Regions from separate parts of the Homo sapiens genome. Here all the other regions are linked to region 5. The links are contacts of gene promoters, found by promoter capture Hi-C in blood cells and fetal thymus (Javierre and others, 2016). All regions are on one chromosome and are shown on one strand. Each heading gives the region's core, a stretch centred on a gene start or on the middle of the fragment in contact. The rest is flanking DNA. Distances are from core to core; before and after follow the strand shown. Region 1 has its middle 95 kb from the start of RNF217. Region 2 overlaps NKAIN2 (sodium/potassium transporting ATPase interacting 2). Region 3 overlaps LOC124901394 (a long non-coding RNA gene). Region 4 has its middle 120 kb from the start of RNF217. Region 5 holds the start of NKAIN2 (sodium/potassium transporting ATPase interacting 2). Region 6 has its middle 1.8 kb from the start of TPD52L1.

Region 1 (2,700 bases), core at 85-2,584, 1.1 Mb before region 5:
ACCTTTTACACAGGCAAAACACGCCATATGAACATGGGGTCAGCATGGGTTAAAGCCAAAATGTGAAATGCATAGCAATAGCACCCTTGGGGGCAGAACTTATAAAAAGGCAGTCTGGGGGTGTATAGGAAGGATGTGCCTAAAGGGAAGTGGTTCTACCCCTTTTTCTTAAGGATAGTGGTGGGCTCTGAACAGCTGGATAGTAAGATACTGTACTTGATAAAACTCACTCATTTTAATGTGACTTAAAACATGTCTTCCCCCATGAGTATTTGAATTTTAAAAAATGATAAGGTAGACAGAAATCTCTGCATTAGTTGACAGCCTAGACAAGGATACATATGATACTAAGGGGTCTGTCTGGAAAGGCTCAATTCAAAGTTTATCTACTCACAATTTGTAGGACACCTACCAAGACAGTGGTATGGGTTTTGCTGGGTTTAAAGAAACTTTGTGAATGATGTTTTTAAAAAGATGTTTTCTTCCTGGGCTTTGTTTCTGATATAAAAAAATCCAAATTATATATTCTTTTACTTCTCTCTCTTGGCTTAAAATAATATATACATAACATAAGTATGTCATAAACTGTCTTACTTTTGTATTTATGTAGTGAGAAAAGAATTTTTGTGTGTGTGGATAATGAGGGAGAAGGAAAGAGAAATATTTTAAAATCAGCACTTTCTACAGAGAAAAACTATCCTAAAATCTTGCAGAAGCACTTCCACAAAGTCAGCTGGCTGAGAACCTGTCCAATTTTTGCAAAATCCAATTGGAAGAATTCTTTACCATTTTCTCAGTATCTTCTTTCTCAGGTTGCTTATTAGGGATTGCCAAAATGTATTCCAATGTACATTACCAGAACCTTCCCTTTCTTTTTCTACTTACATGTCCTTGTGTGTGGCCTTTTAATAGCCCATAATCAGGTGAATTGTTTATGCTGCAGTTAAGAGAAGAAGGCCTTATGCTGGCGGCACCCTGGTATGTTGCCATGGAAATGCCATGATCACTAATTCAGCATTAGGATTTTTGGCCACACTATGGAAATGAGCATAGAGAGAAGGCAGGTTGAGATTTTCTTTAAAATGATACAAAATAACCTCAGTTATACTTGTCCCTTGCTTATGCAACAGACATGTTCTTTGAAGAGTTATTTTTTAAATATATAACTTTAAAAACAAAATCCTATTAGAGATGTTTTAAAGTAGCTTGATAGCTATCATCAGCTGGAAACAAACAATAGGAAGATTTTTGTTGTTGCTATTGTTTTTAGTGATAACAGTACTTATCACCTGGTTATACTATTTTTTGGAAAATTAAATTTGATAATATATGGAATGTATTATCTCAGCATGGCACTTCACACTACAGTAGGCAGATTTCTAAAGTTGTCCACCCAAGATTTCCATCCCCTGGTTATTCAACCAAACACTAATCTAGATATTGTCCTGAAAGGCTCTATACATGTGATTAAGGTCACCAATCAGCTGACTCTAATTGGGCCCACTGTAATCATATGAGCTCTCAAAGGCAGAAAATGGAGGCAGAAACAGCGATATGGCAGATGGGGAAGTCAGAGGGAGTTGAAGCATGTGAAAAACTTGGTCCAATGTTGCTGTGAGCCAAGGAACGTGGGCAGTAACCTGTTCTCATCCTGAAGCTGAGAACAACCCCTGGCCTATAGCTAGCAAGAAAACAAGTGCCCCAGTTCTACAACTGCATATAATCGATTCTGCCAAGGGTGGAATCAGATTCATCTTCAGAGACTCCAGAAAGGAGTTCAGCCCTGTGGATATCCTGATTTCAGTCTCGTGGGACCCAGAGAAACTATCCAAGCATAGGATTTCTGACTTAACCGTGAGATAATAAACTTGTGTTGTTTTAAGGAGCTAAATTCTTGGTTATTTCTTACGGCAGCACTAGAAAACTAAAAGAGGCACCAAGCAATGACCAATAGATATTTCTGTTTCTTTCTGCTTTCCCTGTCACCCATTCACTGCTCCATCATTGCCTCCTCCCTTATCAGTAACCCTAGCTTTCTTTGTGTGTGTGTGTCTGGGTGTTACTCATATACTTAAAATCAGAGGAAGTGAGAGAGAGAGAAGCCCCACTCTCTGTTTAGAGTGTTACTTTGTCCCTGCTCTCCTTAGAGTGCTCATTAGTCCCACAGACCCTCCTTCTTCTCCCCTTGTCTTGTTTATCCTCTTTCCTATTTGCCCAGCAGTCTCAAGGTGATAGGCTGTGGTACCTGAGAGTATGAACAAGATTATTGGGGGGTGGGAAAATAATATTCCACTCATTTCTTCACACACATACACACACACACCTGTACCCTATTCTTAAGGCAGATTTCAACAAAAACAAAGACAGAAAAAAGATGAAAGTGTTTGACTTAATCCGTTTCTGCTGCTATGCAAAACACTGTACAGAGCAGGTAATTTATAAAGCATAAAAATTTATTTCTCACAGTTCTGGAGACTGTGGTGTCCATGTCCCAGGTGCTGGCAGATTTAGCGTCTGGTAACTGCCCACTGTCTGCTTCCCAGATGGTGCCTTTTGGCCGCATCGTCCCAAGAAAATGAACATTGTGTCCTTACATCGCAGAAGGGACGAAAGGGCCAGGTCACTCTCTGAAGCCTCTTTTAAAAGGGCATTAATTCATGAGGGTGGAGCCCTCATAAGTTAATCACTTCTCAAAAAAGT
Region 2 (2,700 bases), core at 180-2,679, 1.0 Mb before region 5:
TTGATCTTCAGCCTCTTAAAATATGGCCTCGAAGCCTTTCATGTCTTCAGTCAACTCCAGCATTTTGACTGATGGGAGCTGGTGTGTGTTTGTGTGCAGTGGGAGAGAGGACACAATCCCGAACCTGACACAGCCTGTGCTTGGAGCAGCCTGCGCCTGCTGCCCTCAATCATTTAGGTATATACAATGAACCTCACCTGAAACAATGTTTGTACAATCGCTAATGCCAGTGGCTAATCCTTCCTATTTGCCTGCTTTATCTCAACACTGTCATCTGTTGAGGTGAATATCAATATTCAAACAACAATAACAAAAGATCCTGTCATCAAAGTGGAAATAAATGAGTATTTTAGATTATTTTAAATAATTTGGCCTATAAAAATAAAAAAAAAGCTCTGCCTATAATTTAACCAAGATTTTTAAATGTAGTGACCTAACCCTCTGCCAACTATTAATTAGCTTGATGCTAACTCTAAATCCCAGATAGAAGGTGGGGGTGGAGGAAGGTTCCCCAAATGAAAAGTCTATTGCAGGCAGTCTTCTAAAAGAACCCTCAGTGTTAGCAGATAATGAAAGTACGTGTTACCTATGACTGAGTAGAAATGATGCCATGACCCGGCAATTTCTTTTCACTGCTGACACATCCCTGCACTGCACAAAATATCAGTGTTGCCTTCATGTAAATTTAATAGGGTGTCTCTGTCAATGACATAAGCAAATACACCATGAGAAGCAGCAGGGGTTTTCAGGGATGGCTCAGAAACTTAAGTATTTTTCCATTTATTTTTAAAATGCAAATTACACTAGTAAGTCAAAAAAATCATTCTGTTAAAAATACATTCAGAATTAACAAATGCAAAAAAAAAGGACACATCAGGATCATAACCCTTGCCTTCTGAATATTAAGTTTATAACAAAAGCTCAGCCTAGAAAAATAGCATTCTTCACCGGATTTTGAGGAGGATACAGCTGTACAACTGTAGATGTTTTCCCAGATATAATCACACTACTGTGCTTACTGATCCCATAAATGACCTGTCCACTGATTACTTTTTAGTAGTCAACTACTGTTTTTTAAAATTTTGGTGGTGATGATAGTTGTGATTTGGTGAAAACTTGGCTGTAACTTAAAGCAGGAATATGAGGGTTTATTTTCTGTACCCATATACATGTACTATAAGGTGAAATCGCATCACAGCATGAATGTACAGTGAAACCTCATTTTTAATAGTCACATTAAAAGTCACATTAGAATAGTTTCTGGCATGTATAGTATTTATATTTTAGGACTCAAAGGACAATACATTGGTAAATATTTTTCTCATACATTAAACATGCATGTCACTATAAAAGCGTCATATGAGGTTTCACTGACATGTTTGCAATTGTTTATTTTATACATGTATGTATGGACAAACATACAACCCACTGAGGAAATTCAAGCATGAGTGCTGGAATCTTTTTTTATAGTTTATGTTCCAATGATAACTCTTTGTTCCTCTATCATTTTCAAATGTATATGTGTGTGTATATTACAGACATCCATGCAAACACAGTAATGGAACTGGTGTATGTAGATCCGAATGGGCTAAGGTCTAAAGTAGTTTAATCCAATAACTGAAACTTCATAGAAATCAAAGAAAAAACTTGCTCCATGCCAATTTATAACTTTTGAATTTCACTGCACTAAAGAATGGTGTGTTAGTTTTAAAAAATTGAGTTTAATGTCTCAGGTGTATCCAAGAAAAAATATGACTCATCTGAGTTCCTGATAAGCCTGAGCTAATTATGTTTTCCACTAATGAAAACCAAATAATGCTTTAAAATATAGAACAAAATTTCCTAGGAGTTCAGAATATTCCATAAACACATTGACCTACTATTAAGTTTCCAAAGGCATCTTGTTGCCAACTACGTTAACAGCACAGTTTTTCTGCCACAATAATACAGGAGGGTTGAAATACACTCTAACACACAACAGATCCCCCAAATACCACAAAAAGATCTCAAATATTTCACCAAGGTAACTATTGCTCCCCCCACCCACCCAAAAATAATCTTGTACACTGAAGTTAGAAAAAAAAGTTCACCTACGTAGAGTCTTCAATTTGAATTAGATATAAAAGAGTAAACATAGCTAATACATATTCAGTTGGCCTCTGTTGATAGAAATCCACAGCTGTTTCTGTGTTAGTAAAAGACAATTGTAGATACTTATAAAAGCACCTAGAGTGCAATAAATAAAATCAGCGAGTTAAGCCATTTCTGCTTTCTGCTTCCAGTAGATTAGTGAGTTTAGTAGATTAATGTTTTACTCTGTCCCACCCCCAACCCCATCAGAAGACCATATTTTAGAATTATAAAGATGACAGATATTGTTATTGTTACTTGTCTCTTTTGGGCCACCATGGAGGCTCTATGGTAAAGCACTTTGCTGACAGCTGGCACTTTTCTTATACAGACACACTGGAGCTGCTGAGCTATTCAGTCTTGTTCCTTGACATGAAACACACAGGCTTGAACTCATTTAGAATTAATAGCAGTGTGTTAGCCTAAAGGAAGTGGCTTGGGGCTGTCTGCACTGGGATTCTTGGGCACACAATGTAGGTGGGTTAAGGCAAGTATGTACGGTACAGCCTTTAGGGCAAACAATCTGCCATTTCGGACTTCGGGTACAAGGTCATCATGGCATGTTTCGTT
Region 3 (2,700 bases), core at 96-2,595, 1.3 Mb before region 5:
TTGAGAAAAATAAAAATAGTGTGTCATTTCAAAGTGAAGGTTCATTTGGAGTGTCTAGAGAATAGAATTTATTGAAAGCAAGAAAGATGGTTCCAAAGAGTGTTCGAGGAATGTTAAAAAAAAACTTTTGAGATATCTTTCATCATTTATAATATGATGGTTATAATTGTAAAAAATTTACAAATGTTAAGGATGATGATTGGGATTTCAAAAATTTAAGAATCAGTATGTTTAATAACAATATCAAGCAGTATTCAAGAACAAGTAAGTAGACTTCGAGCAAGACGTCATGCCATCAAATCTGTGCAGTGAGATGGTTGATGGGGAGAAGGAAAGGCTTTCTAAGGAGTTGGAAAAAAGTATGAGACAGAAACAAGAATGGCAGAGGTGGAGGAAGGCTGGTTAATAAGGCCAGCCCCACTGAAATGAGGGGTTAATTCTGAGAATTAATTATAGATAAGGTTGGATAGGTATGTGGGTAAGTGGAACCCACGGAGAATCTGGAAAGCCTGATGGTTCTATTACCAATAGTATTAGAAGTTATGTTCCAATTTTCATTTTGAAAGGAAAAACCAAAGTAATTATACTAGTTTAAGTAAATATTAGCAATTTTATTTTGACTGTGCTAAAATAATCATCATATACACACACGCATACACATTTGTGTGTGTGTGTGTGTGTGTGAGTGTGTGTTTGTAACGTCTCTTTGGAGGTTGGTATTATTATCCCCATCTTACAGATGAAGAAACTGAGTCTTAGATTATTTGACTGGCTTGGATCAAACAGCTAATAACAGTGGAGATGGGACATAAATCCAGATTAACTCCTCAGCCTTCGTTCTTAACCATTATGCCACATTGCCTCCAATTTCTAGTTTTCTTTCTCTCCATTCCTGGAAACACTTAAATAATTACTATCACAGTGCATCCTATAAAAAACATTAGCGAATATTCAGTGAAAATACAAATTAACAACCAAGGTTGGTGGATTAAATTTACTTGAAGTCAATGTTGCACCATATTGGTGGACAAACTTGCAAAAAGAAAAAATATGCAACTTCCTCTTAAATATATTGACCTCCATCTATACCAGAATGCTTTATTTTCTGCATATCTAATGATATCTGTTAAACAATCATCTGTTTTTTCAGAGGAGGAAGAAAAGGGCTGCTCTATTCATGAGCTGGGTGAACAGTTTAAAGCATTCACTAGAAAAATGAAGAAAATTAACACAATTTGACAAGCTGTAGGAACTTTCATGCGATGTGACATTTTAAACCAGTTCAGTAAGGAAAATACATAATTATTCCTCATAACTGTCACATGAATATAGCAGCCACTCTAAATGCTGGTGAAGAAAATCAATCTGAGAGCAAACAAGATCCATCAAACTGCTTGCATAATTCAATGGCCTGTAGAAAAAAGTATTCTTCCCTTTTGACTCAAATATTAAAGGAATTGTGCTTTCTACCTTATTATCTCTTCTCCATCCTCCTCTCCCTATTTCTAGCTTACCTGCACTAACACACATACACACACACACACACACACATTCACTCCCTCATCTGGTTTCAATAACTCACAATGATAATAGTCACAGTTGATTTCAACAATTCATAAGCTAGAGTGCTCCACCTAGATCTATTGTTTTCAATAAAAGCAGCAGAATATTGACATACATTATTTATTTATAATAATTATAGTTATTATATTCTGTAATTTATGCATTGTTGTGGAGCATTTATTATGTTTGATTCTATCATCACAATTCTCTATTTGCTATTACTCAAATTTGCTTAATGTTGTACTAATTTCTCCTTGGCATGTAATATTTATGTATCTTTCTATGAAGTCTGTCAGTTCTTTTTGTCTCTTGGGTAGTATCATTTCTTCCAACAAGGACCATTGCTTTATTTAATGAGTCTGTTTTTTGAAGAGCATAAACTACTGCCCTTGAATGTACTATACCCTAAATCTGTTTTTATGTTCTCATAGTTTAAAATTCATGATATACACAGTGAGTGTATTACATTTTCTACATGTGGATTAGGGGTGATCCAGCCATCATCTAGTTTATTTGGCAGCCTCTAGTTTTTTCCCCCTGAAAATCACAACCATATTGTTATCCATGATCTAATAATGTTATTACTATCACAAATCTAATCATGTTATTACTATCTTCATAAATTAAAAAAAACTCTCCATAACCCAAGGGCATTTCTCAAAATTTTATCTACCTGATGTTATCTATATTGCTTCTAAAATAAATAAAACAAATCAGATAACATTTTAAAAAGTAAACAGATTTCAAGATCAAACACATTGTGAAATATTCATATTATCACTCCCTCTTATAATTTTATTATATTATAACAATTTCTATAATAAAAACAAAATTCTGCTTAATTTGGATTAACTCAGCATTTCCCAAAGTTGACTACACACACACACACACACACACACACACACAAACACACACACCACAAATACACATATTTCAATGGTGGTGGGAATATTTCTTAAAATTTCATGAGCCTCTATTTTTGTGGAAATGATGAATCTACAGTAAGCAAATCCACAGTCTTCTGCATGACACAAGAGGCCTTGCCCAGTGGGGCCACTGCCCACTTCTCTCCCTGCATTGCCATGATGTGCCAACGAATGATGTGCCAATCATTCATTGCACTCTGGGGTCCAGCCA
Region 4 (2,700 bases), core at 90-2,589, 1.0 Mb before region 5:
GCATTCTCTGAGAGCAACTCTGAACCAGGGACCTGAGTGTTGGTATTTTAACTGGAAGGTGATCCCATAAAATACAAGTGAAGGCCGTAGGGCAGGGAAAACAGAGAAGAATAAAAGCTGGGAAGTATGTGATAAAAAGCTCTGAGCTCTATGCTATTAATCAATTTATTGCATCTTATCTCCAAATCCTTCCTTTTTTAAAACTGCTTTGCAATTAGGGATCTGGATACATTATGTATTTTTCATTTGCAGCAAGCGTGATATTAAGCTTTGCATAGAGGGTGCTGGAGGGACCATGCAGAAAAACAGAGATTCCCTTCCTGGATCTAGTGTGCTCCTCTCATTAGCTTCTTGCAGCATGCTCATTGCTTATTGTCAGTGCCTGGTGGCCAGCAGTCCACGGTGCCTTCTACTGGTACAACCCTCAAGTGGCTTCACAATTTCTCTGCTGTCAGAGAAGGGAGTGCCACTAGTGGACTTCGTTTCCATGACTGTTTTTCCCCAGGCCACCACCCGCTTCAGGTGGCTTTGTAGTAGAGTGCCTTGGCTAGGCATCTTCTGGTGGATAACTGTTGGGCAGTTCCGCAATCACCTCTGAAACATCGTTCCTTCTTCTGCATAGCTTTCTTTGGCACTCCAGAATAAGTTTTCCAATGAGTTCTGCTAGTGTGGCACCTCAGAGAAGTTATCTGCCATCCAGTGACCCAGCTGTGCCCCCTTCAGTGAGGTCTGGATGTCAGATTGGAAGAAGGTAGCCTTTTCTTTGTGTGCTCTCTCTTAGCTCCAATCCTCTGTTAATTTTTATACTGATTTTTGACTATACAAATTACTGTGTGATTTTCGTCTCCTGATTGAACCCAGACTGATACAAAGTCTCTGGGTGATTCTAATGTAGAGCCAAGGCTAAGGGTCACTGATCTTTAAGGTGAACCTGAATAAAGTTCAAACAGTTTGATAAAGTTCAACACCAGATGATGGAAACTCTCAGCAAACTAGGAATAAAAGGGAAATTTTAAAATATGATAAGAGAAATCTACAAAAGCTTTGTGGCTAATACCCTAGTCAATGCTGAAATTTCCATCAATTTTTCATTGAAATTAAGAAAGCACAAAGATATTCACTATCAAAATTTCTATTCAACACTATAATAAAGTTATTAGTATCTTTATTTAAAAAGTCAATAAAAGATATTCTTATTGAAAAACAATAAATAAAATCATTACATTGTAGAGGATACAGTTGTGTAAATAGAAAATCTTAGACAATCCACACATTGATTATTAAGTAAATTTACCAAGTTGCTGAATTCAAAGTCAACATACAAAAACTAATTTGATTTCTATATATTTTGACTTTTATATATTTATTCGCATTTATACACATGTGTTAAATAGGACACACACCAGCAAATACCTGGCAATAAATCTAAAGAAAGATGTACAGATGTATACATTAAGAATAATAAAGTATTATGAAGACCTGCATAAATGGGGAAATATTCATATTCATCGACTCAAAGACTCAATATTTTTCAATTATGTGTAGGTAGAACACAATTTAATTTAAGTGGGTTTTATTTTTAAAGAATTGATATGCTACTTTAAAATTCCATATGAAAATGACTAGAGAAGCTTAGGTAACTTTCATGAATAACAAAAGCATAGGACATACACTACCAAATATCAAGACAAATTATAAACCTGGAATATTTAGGGCAATGTGGTATCACTGCAAGGATAGACAAATAGACCAATGGAGCAGAATACAAAGCCTAGAAATAGACCTGCACATTTATAGTCACTTGATTCAAAACAAAGTTGCAACCACAAATTAGTAGGAGAAGAATGGTCTCTTCATAAATTGGCAGTAAATCAATTAGATATAAGGTTGGAAAAAGTGATCCCTAATTTCTTCCTTATACCACACCAAAAAATAAATTCAAAATGTATCATAAACCTAAATGTTAAAAGAAAAACAATGAAGCTATGGAAGAAAACGTAAGAGAATATCTTATGATATTGGGGCAGACAAGGTTTCATAAACAGGATGAAAAAGGCACTAATTGTGAAAGGAAAAGTAGATAAAATTGGACTTTATTTAAATTAAGAACTTCTGTTAATCAAAAGATAATATGAAAAGAGCAAAAAGGCAATGCAAGCCACAGACTGGGGAAAGATATTTGTTATATATATATTTTACAAATATCTTTTATATGGAAAAGATATTTGTAATTTATATGTTATATAACTATTTCTATAAATATTATATATAAATATTCATATATTATATATAAATATTTCAGAGAAATATAACAAAATCTTATAAGCCAATTAGATAAAAACACAAAACACAATAAAAAATGAAGCAAAAACTTCACAGAATACATCCAAATTACCAATATGCATATGGAAAGGTACCTATCACTAGTCATCAGAAAAGTGCTAAAAAAAAATTATGGAGACCCCACAACATATCTGCCAGAATGGCTAAAATTGAAAAGACTTAGGGACAATAATAAGTGTTGGGGAGGATGTAGAGCATGTTTGCTGATTAGAGGGTAAATTGATACGATAGCTTGAAGAACTATTTGGCAGTATTTTCTAAAAGATTAGATAGATAGACAGACAGATAGACAGATGATAGATACTGCCAGACAGTTTTCGAAAGAACTAATTTATATTTGTGTGTGTTTATATATAT
Region 5 (2,717 bases), core at 207-2,706:
CTCTTTTGAACACTTTACTGATTGGACACTTAAACATCTTCTGCCTTGTAGTCACTTCAACCTTTATGAAACAGTTGTTGAAAACGGACATGACTATTCCAGTTAATTTATACTTTCTAAGGAAATATATTTAATGACAAGTGTGAGCAAGTAGCTCCTACCTCAAATTAACCACTTAGAGTGGTGTATTTTTCACCTCTCAACTCTCTACTCAGACCCTCCTTCCATTGCCCTTAGGGAATTGAAATTCAGAGACATGACGTTTTCCATTATTGGTTCCTTGCCCCTTTGCAACTGTACAACATTCCTCAAAAAGTACATAGAATTCTCCATCCTATAGGATCAGACAACAGTATCTATTTCAGGAGCAATAATATGCATAATGTAAGACAGAATAGTTTTTCTTGGAATTGTCTGTGTTAATTGTGATTTAAAGGTTACTGGTTCCGTCTATGACAATGGTGTTGCTGAGTTCACCTAAGTATTTTTGTTCAATCTGCATACTTTAAAAACTCAATGTGGCTAAAACTCAAACAGTCTAAATTAGACTGTTGTAAGGATACCATGTGCCCTAAACAGTGGTTTTTTTAGAGCATTATACTTAAAGACAACATTTTCCTTAAAAAAAGAAAAAAAACATGTCTATGAAGAAACAAAGATACTGCAAAATTAGTATAGAGAAGAAAAGTCCAAAATTCCGTATTCCTCTGTTTAACAACCTGTACGGTAAATTGTAGGTGACAATCACGTTGTTACATGAATAGGAATGCAAAGCATAAAGAACAAGAGCTACATCTTGCTTTTCCTAAAGAAATTAAAGACAAGTTTAACCCGCACCTGCCAAACTGTCTTAAAAGGGACAGAAATAGGTGGGAACGGAAAGGCTCACCTCTCCTGTACCCCAGAGTGCGTCTCCCTGAAATCATCTTCAATATAGGCAATATATCTGTCACCTTCTCTTTTATCTTTTTCGTCCATTCTAGTCAATGGCAGACCCTTTGCTGCACTCCCCTGCCCACTATCTCAAAGACACATTACAGAATAAGGGGACCCAAGTGTCACTTACCAGTTGCATGCCACAGATAAAGATAAGCGTGCACCTGCCACTGCAATAACCCATGGTTTCCGAGACCCCTGCCACAGCCAGACTGTCCCACGTCGGCCACCGTCGAGCCCCCACTTTATCCAATCAGATCGCGGGGAAGGACACGCAAACCTGCCGAGGGCTCGGGGGCTCCGGGCTGCTGCTGCTGCCAGCGTCCTGGGAAGTGACAGGCATTAGGACCTGCTGGCGCGGCGGCGGCGGCGGCGGCAGCTCCAGCCGCGCCCGCCACACATACCTTCACTCGCTCGGTGCACACGCCGCGCCGCGGGCAGTGCCGCCTGCGGAGGCGCGCTCGGGGCCCGCAGGGGCAGCAGCGGCAGCCTGGCAGCGCCGCCGCGCCCTCGGGCATCTGGCCCGCGAAGTTTCGCCCCTGCCGCTCTCCGCGCCGCTCGCCTCACGCCCCCCAGCGCGGCCGCCGCCCGACGCGCGCTCGCCCTGCGCTCGCCGCGCGCCGGCTCCGGGGGCGGCAGAAGCGCGCGAGGGCCGCTGCCCGCCTCCCTGCGCAGCCCGCGGCTCCTAGGCACCCTGCGTTGCTGGGCCCGGCGGGCGGGGGTGGGGCGGGGAGCGGGGCGCGGGCCGAGCGGGGGCGTCCCGGCTCCGCGGTCCCCGGCGGCTGCTGCAGCGGCTGCTGCGCGCAATGATGCGGGTCCGCGCCGCGTCCCAGCAGCGGCGCTGCCCCTCCCTTCGCCCAGATGTGTGAATCCTCCTCCTACAACAAATCCTTCATCCTGCTCCCTGCCGCCCCCTCCCAGGGGGCCAACTTTGAGGACCGCAGGGGCTGCCGCCCAGGCGGCCGCAGGCGGCGGTGTCTAGGCGGAAAGGAGCGGCGCGAAAGCGGCGGCGGCGGGGACCGGGGCCTCGGGGCGAGGAGTCTGGGCGGCATGACCGCGGTTTGCTGAGCTGAAGTCGGTCGTGCTCCCAGAGCCACTCCGCGGGAGCGAACCGAGTGTGTGTGTGCGCGCGCGCTCGGGGGAGAAGGGACCAAGAGGAGGGTTAGGGAAGGAAGCTGGGGTCATGGAACAGGGGTGCAACCGAGGCATCCAGAGCGGCCGGAAAGCCCGAGTGGCGGAGAGGCCAGAGGTGGCGAGAAGGGGCGCGGCGGCACCGGACGCACCGCCCAGCACCTGGCTCCCCTGGGCTCCCGAGGATCTGAAGGGTCGGAGCGCGGAGAGCTACGGAGCCGACCCTGCTTGGGGAAGGGGACCGAGTTGCTGCTGGAGTTGGGAAAAATTAGCAACCGGAGGGAATAGGGATGCAATGAGTTGCTGTTGCTGCTTCAAACTGTTGTTTGTTTTCACTTAAAATACTAAAGAGTCGGAGACTAGTTTAATACTCAGTTACTTCAGCTTCACAGCAGTCCCAGCTGGGTGTGGATTCCTAGTGGAGATGCACCAGCCTCCGCTGAGCACCGGCCTGAAAGCTGTGAAGCGGCTGCTACCTGCAGAGACAGGCTTCGGAGCCCGCTGCTGCCACCTGCGGGCGGAAAGCTGAAGGGCGCAACATGCTGGCCCAAGTGGCTGCCCCTGGGGCGTGGATATTTAGGACCAAGTTTCCTTTTTAGCCCTGGCAGCTAAGGAAAGCAATCCTAACTTTTCCAGGAAGTGAAGATTAT
Region 6 (2,700 bases), core at 178-2,677, 1.3 Mb before region 5:
AATGAAGTTTGCTGCATCAATTGACTCTTCCTTTTATGAAAGATTTTTCTGTAGCATGCAATGCTGGTTGATAGCATTTTATCTACATTATAACTTTTTTCAAAATTGGAGTCAATCATCTCAAACCCTGCCATTGCTTTATCAACTAAGTTTATATAATTATAAATCTTTTGCTGTCATTTCAACAATGCTGTGAACAACTTCACCAGGAGTAGATTCCATTTCAAGTAACCATTTTCTTTGCTTGTCCATAAGAAGCAACTCCTCAACCATTCAAGTCTTATGAGATTGAGCAATTTACTCACATATTCAGGCTCCACTTCTAATTCTAGTTCTCTTGCTATTTCTACCATATCTGCAGTTACTTCCTGCTTTGAAGTCCTGAACTCCCAAAGTCATTCAGGAGGGTTGGAATCAACTTTTTCCAAACTCCTGTTAATGTTGACGTTTTGACTTCCTCCCACGAATTATAAATGTTCTTAATGGCATCTAGAATGGTGAATCTTTTCCAGAAGGTTTTCAATTTACTTTGCCCACATCCAACAGAAGAATCACTATTAATGGCAGCTATCTATTTATTTCTTAAATAATAAGGCTTGAAAGTCAAAATTACTCCTTTATCCATGGGCTACAAGATGAATGTTGTTTTGCCAGGCATGAAAACAACATTAATCTCTTCGTACATCTCCATCAACTGTTGAGTGACAAAGTATATTATTAACCAATATTAAGCAATAATATTTAGAAAGAAACATTTTTTGAGCAGTAAGTCTTAATAGTGGGCTTAAAAATATTCAATAAACCATGCTGTAAACAGATGTACTGTCATTCAAGTTTTGTTGTTCCATTTATAGAGCACAGGTGGAATATATTTAGCATAATTCTTAAGGGCTTTAAAATTTTCAGAATGGTAAATGAGCTTTGGCTTCAATGTAAAGTCACCAGCTACTTTTGCCCCTAACAAGAGAGTCAGTTTGTCCTTTGAAGCTTTGAAACCAGGTATTGACTTCTTTGTAGCTGTAAAAGTCCTTGGTAGCATCTTCTTCCAATATAAGGCTGTTTCATCCGTATTGAAAATGTGTTGTTTCGTGTAGCTACCTTCATCAATGATCTTAGCCAGATCTTCTGGAGAACTTGCTGCAGCTTTGACATCAGCCCTTGCTGCTTCACCTTACATTCATGTTATGGAGATGACTTCTTTCCTTAAGCCTCATGAGCCAGTCTCTGCTAGCTTCCAACTTTTCTTCTACAGATTCCTCACCTCTCTCAGGCTTTATAGAATTGAAGAGAGTGAGGGCTTTGCCCTGGATTAGGCTGTGGTTAAGAGAATGTTGTGACTGCTTTGATCGGGTTTGATCCAGACCACTCAAACTTTCCCCATATCAGCAAGAAAACTGTTTCACTTCCTTATCGTTTGTGTATTCACTGGAGTAGCACTTCTACTCTCCTTCAAGAAGTTTTCTTTTGCATTCACAGCTTGAATAACTCGTACAAGAGACCTAGCTTTTGGCCTATCTCAGCTTTCAACATGCCTTCCTCACTAAATTTAATCATGTCTAGCTTTCGATTTAAGGTGAGAGACATGTGACTCTTCCTTTCATGTGAATATTTGGAGGCGATTGTAGGGTTATTAATGAGCGTAACTACAATATTGTTGTGTCTCAGAGAATGGAGAGGCCTAAGAAGAGGGAGAGAGATGGGGAAATGGCTGGCTGGTGGAGCAGTCAGAACACACACAAGATTTATTGATTCAATTCACTGTCTTATATGGGCATGGATCAGGGTTCCCCAAAATAATTACAATGGTAACATCAAAGATCACTCATCCCAGATCACCATAACAGATATAATATAATGAAAAAGCTTGAAATATTGTGAGAATTACCAAAATGTGACACAGAGACATCAAGTGAGCACATGGCATTGGAAAAATGGCACCAATAGATTTGCTCAACATGGGGATGCCACAAACCTCCAATTTGTTAAAAACGCGATAGCTCACTCCTGTAATCCCAGCACTTTGAGAGGCCAAGGTGGGCGGATCACGAGGTCAGGAGATCAAGACTTTCCTGACTAACATGCTGAAACCCCATCTTTACTAAAAATACAAAAAATTGGCCAGGCGTGGTGGCACGCGCCTGCAGTCCCAGCTACTCGGGAGGCTGAGGCAGGAGAATCGCTTGAACCTGGGAGGCAGAGGTTGCAGTGAGCCGAGATTAGCCTGGGCAACAGAGCAAGACTCCATCAAAAAAAAAAAAATGCAGTGTCTGTGAAGCACAGTTAAGAGAAGCGCAATAAGACGGGTTGTGCCTGTAAAGGTCTGATACTATGCCCTGGACAGAGGAAGAGAACATGGTTTTACAATACTGAGCCATCACTCTTAGTGGAGATACGAAGGTAGGTTTCCACAAGCCGTGGTTCTAACATTTTTGTCAACTGATCAATACACAATTTTGTTTCTTTATATATTTTAGTTTAAAGACACCTTATTTCATGTATATCATGTATATTGTTGTTTCATTAACATTGAGCTAACAGCCAACAGCACTAAAACTCATACCAGAATCAAGTTTATTAAGCTTATTTAACATATATATTTTCTCTCTAAGGCACATCACAACCTTCTTGCACCTAGGAACACTAGACAGTACTTCAATGCTATCCTGGGGGGCCCAGAAAAATCACCAAAAAAAAAAGGTT

Evidence for each region. The method cuts DNA at HindIII sites, captures the fragments that hold promoters and counts their contacts. A CHiCAGO score of 5 or more calls a contact.
Region 1: a contact is called between a fragment that was not itself captured here and the fragment with the promoter of NKAIN2 in region 5, in 3 of 17 cell types (M2 macrophages, M0 macrophages and M1 macrophages). The highest score is 15.1, in M2 macrophages.
Region 2: a contact is called between a fragment that was not itself captured here and the fragment with the promoter of NKAIN2 in region 5, in 3 of 17 cell types (M0 macrophages, M2 macrophages and monocytes). The highest score is 9.7, in M0 macrophages.
Region 3: a fragment that was not itself captured here is called in contact with the fragment with the promoter of NKAIN2 in region 5 in 10 of 17 cell types (naive CD4 T cells, fetal thymus, total CD4 T cells and 7 more); the score reaches 14.6 in naive CD4 T cells.
Region 4: a contact is called between a fragment that was not itself captured here and the fragment with the promoter of NKAIN2 in region 5, in 7 of 17 cell types (M2 macrophages, M0 macrophages, M1 macrophages and 4 more). The highest score is 27.1, in M2 macrophages.
Region 6: a contact is called between a fragment that was not itself captured here and the fragment with the promoter of NKAIN2 in region 5, in 1 of 17 cell types (M2 macrophages). The highest score is 6.0, in M2 macrophages.

What each region holds. Positions count from the first base shown.
Region 1 is chr6:124,865,599-124,868,298 of GRCh38, reverse strand. No RefSeq gene overlaps it. Among named protein-coding and RNA genes, the nearest start is that of RNF217, 95 kb to the left of the region's middle. The HindIII fragment of the contact is 4,648 bases long and covers 1-2,700 here.
Region 2 is chr6:124,823,705-124,826,404 of GRCh38, reverse strand. NKAIN2 (sodium/potassium transporting ATPase interacting 2) reads right to left here. Exons shown (of 7, transcript NM_001040214.3): 7 at 765-2,700. Among named protein-coding and RNA genes, the nearest start is that of RNF217, 140 kb to the left of the region's middle. The HindIII fragment of the contact is 4,924 bases long and covers 1-2,700 here.
Region 3 is chr6:125,114,960-125,117,659 of GRCh38, reverse strand. It overlaps LOC124901394 (a long non-coding RNA gene), which reads left to right. Exons shown (of 2, transcript XR_007059735.1): 2 at 1-33. Among named protein-coding and RNA genes, the nearest start is that of TPD52L1, 37 kb to the left of the region's middle. The HindIII fragment of the contact is 4,517 bases long and covers 1-2,700 here.
Region 4 is chr6:124,844,351-124,847,050 of GRCh38, reverse strand. No RefSeq gene overlaps it. Among named protein-coding and RNA genes, the nearest start is that of RNF217, 120 kb to the left of the region's middle. The HindIII fragment of the contact is 589 bases long and covers 1,045-1,633 here.
Region 5 is chr6:123,802,604-123,805,320 of GRCh38, reverse strand. It overlaps NKAIN2 (sodium/potassium transporting ATPase interacting 2), which reads right to left and starts at 1,456. Exons shown (of 7, transcript NM_001040214.3): 1 at 1,067-1,456. The coding sequence starts at 1,120. RefSeq lists an enhancer at 2,651-2,700. The HindIII fragment of the contact is 9,489 bases long and covers 1-2,717 here.
Region 6 is chr6:125,150,602-125,153,301 of GRCh38, reverse strand. No RefSeq gene overlaps it. Among named protein-coding and RNA genes, the nearest start is that of TPD52L1, 1.8 kb to the left of the region's middle. The HindIII fragment of the contact is 876 bases long and covers 990-1,865 here.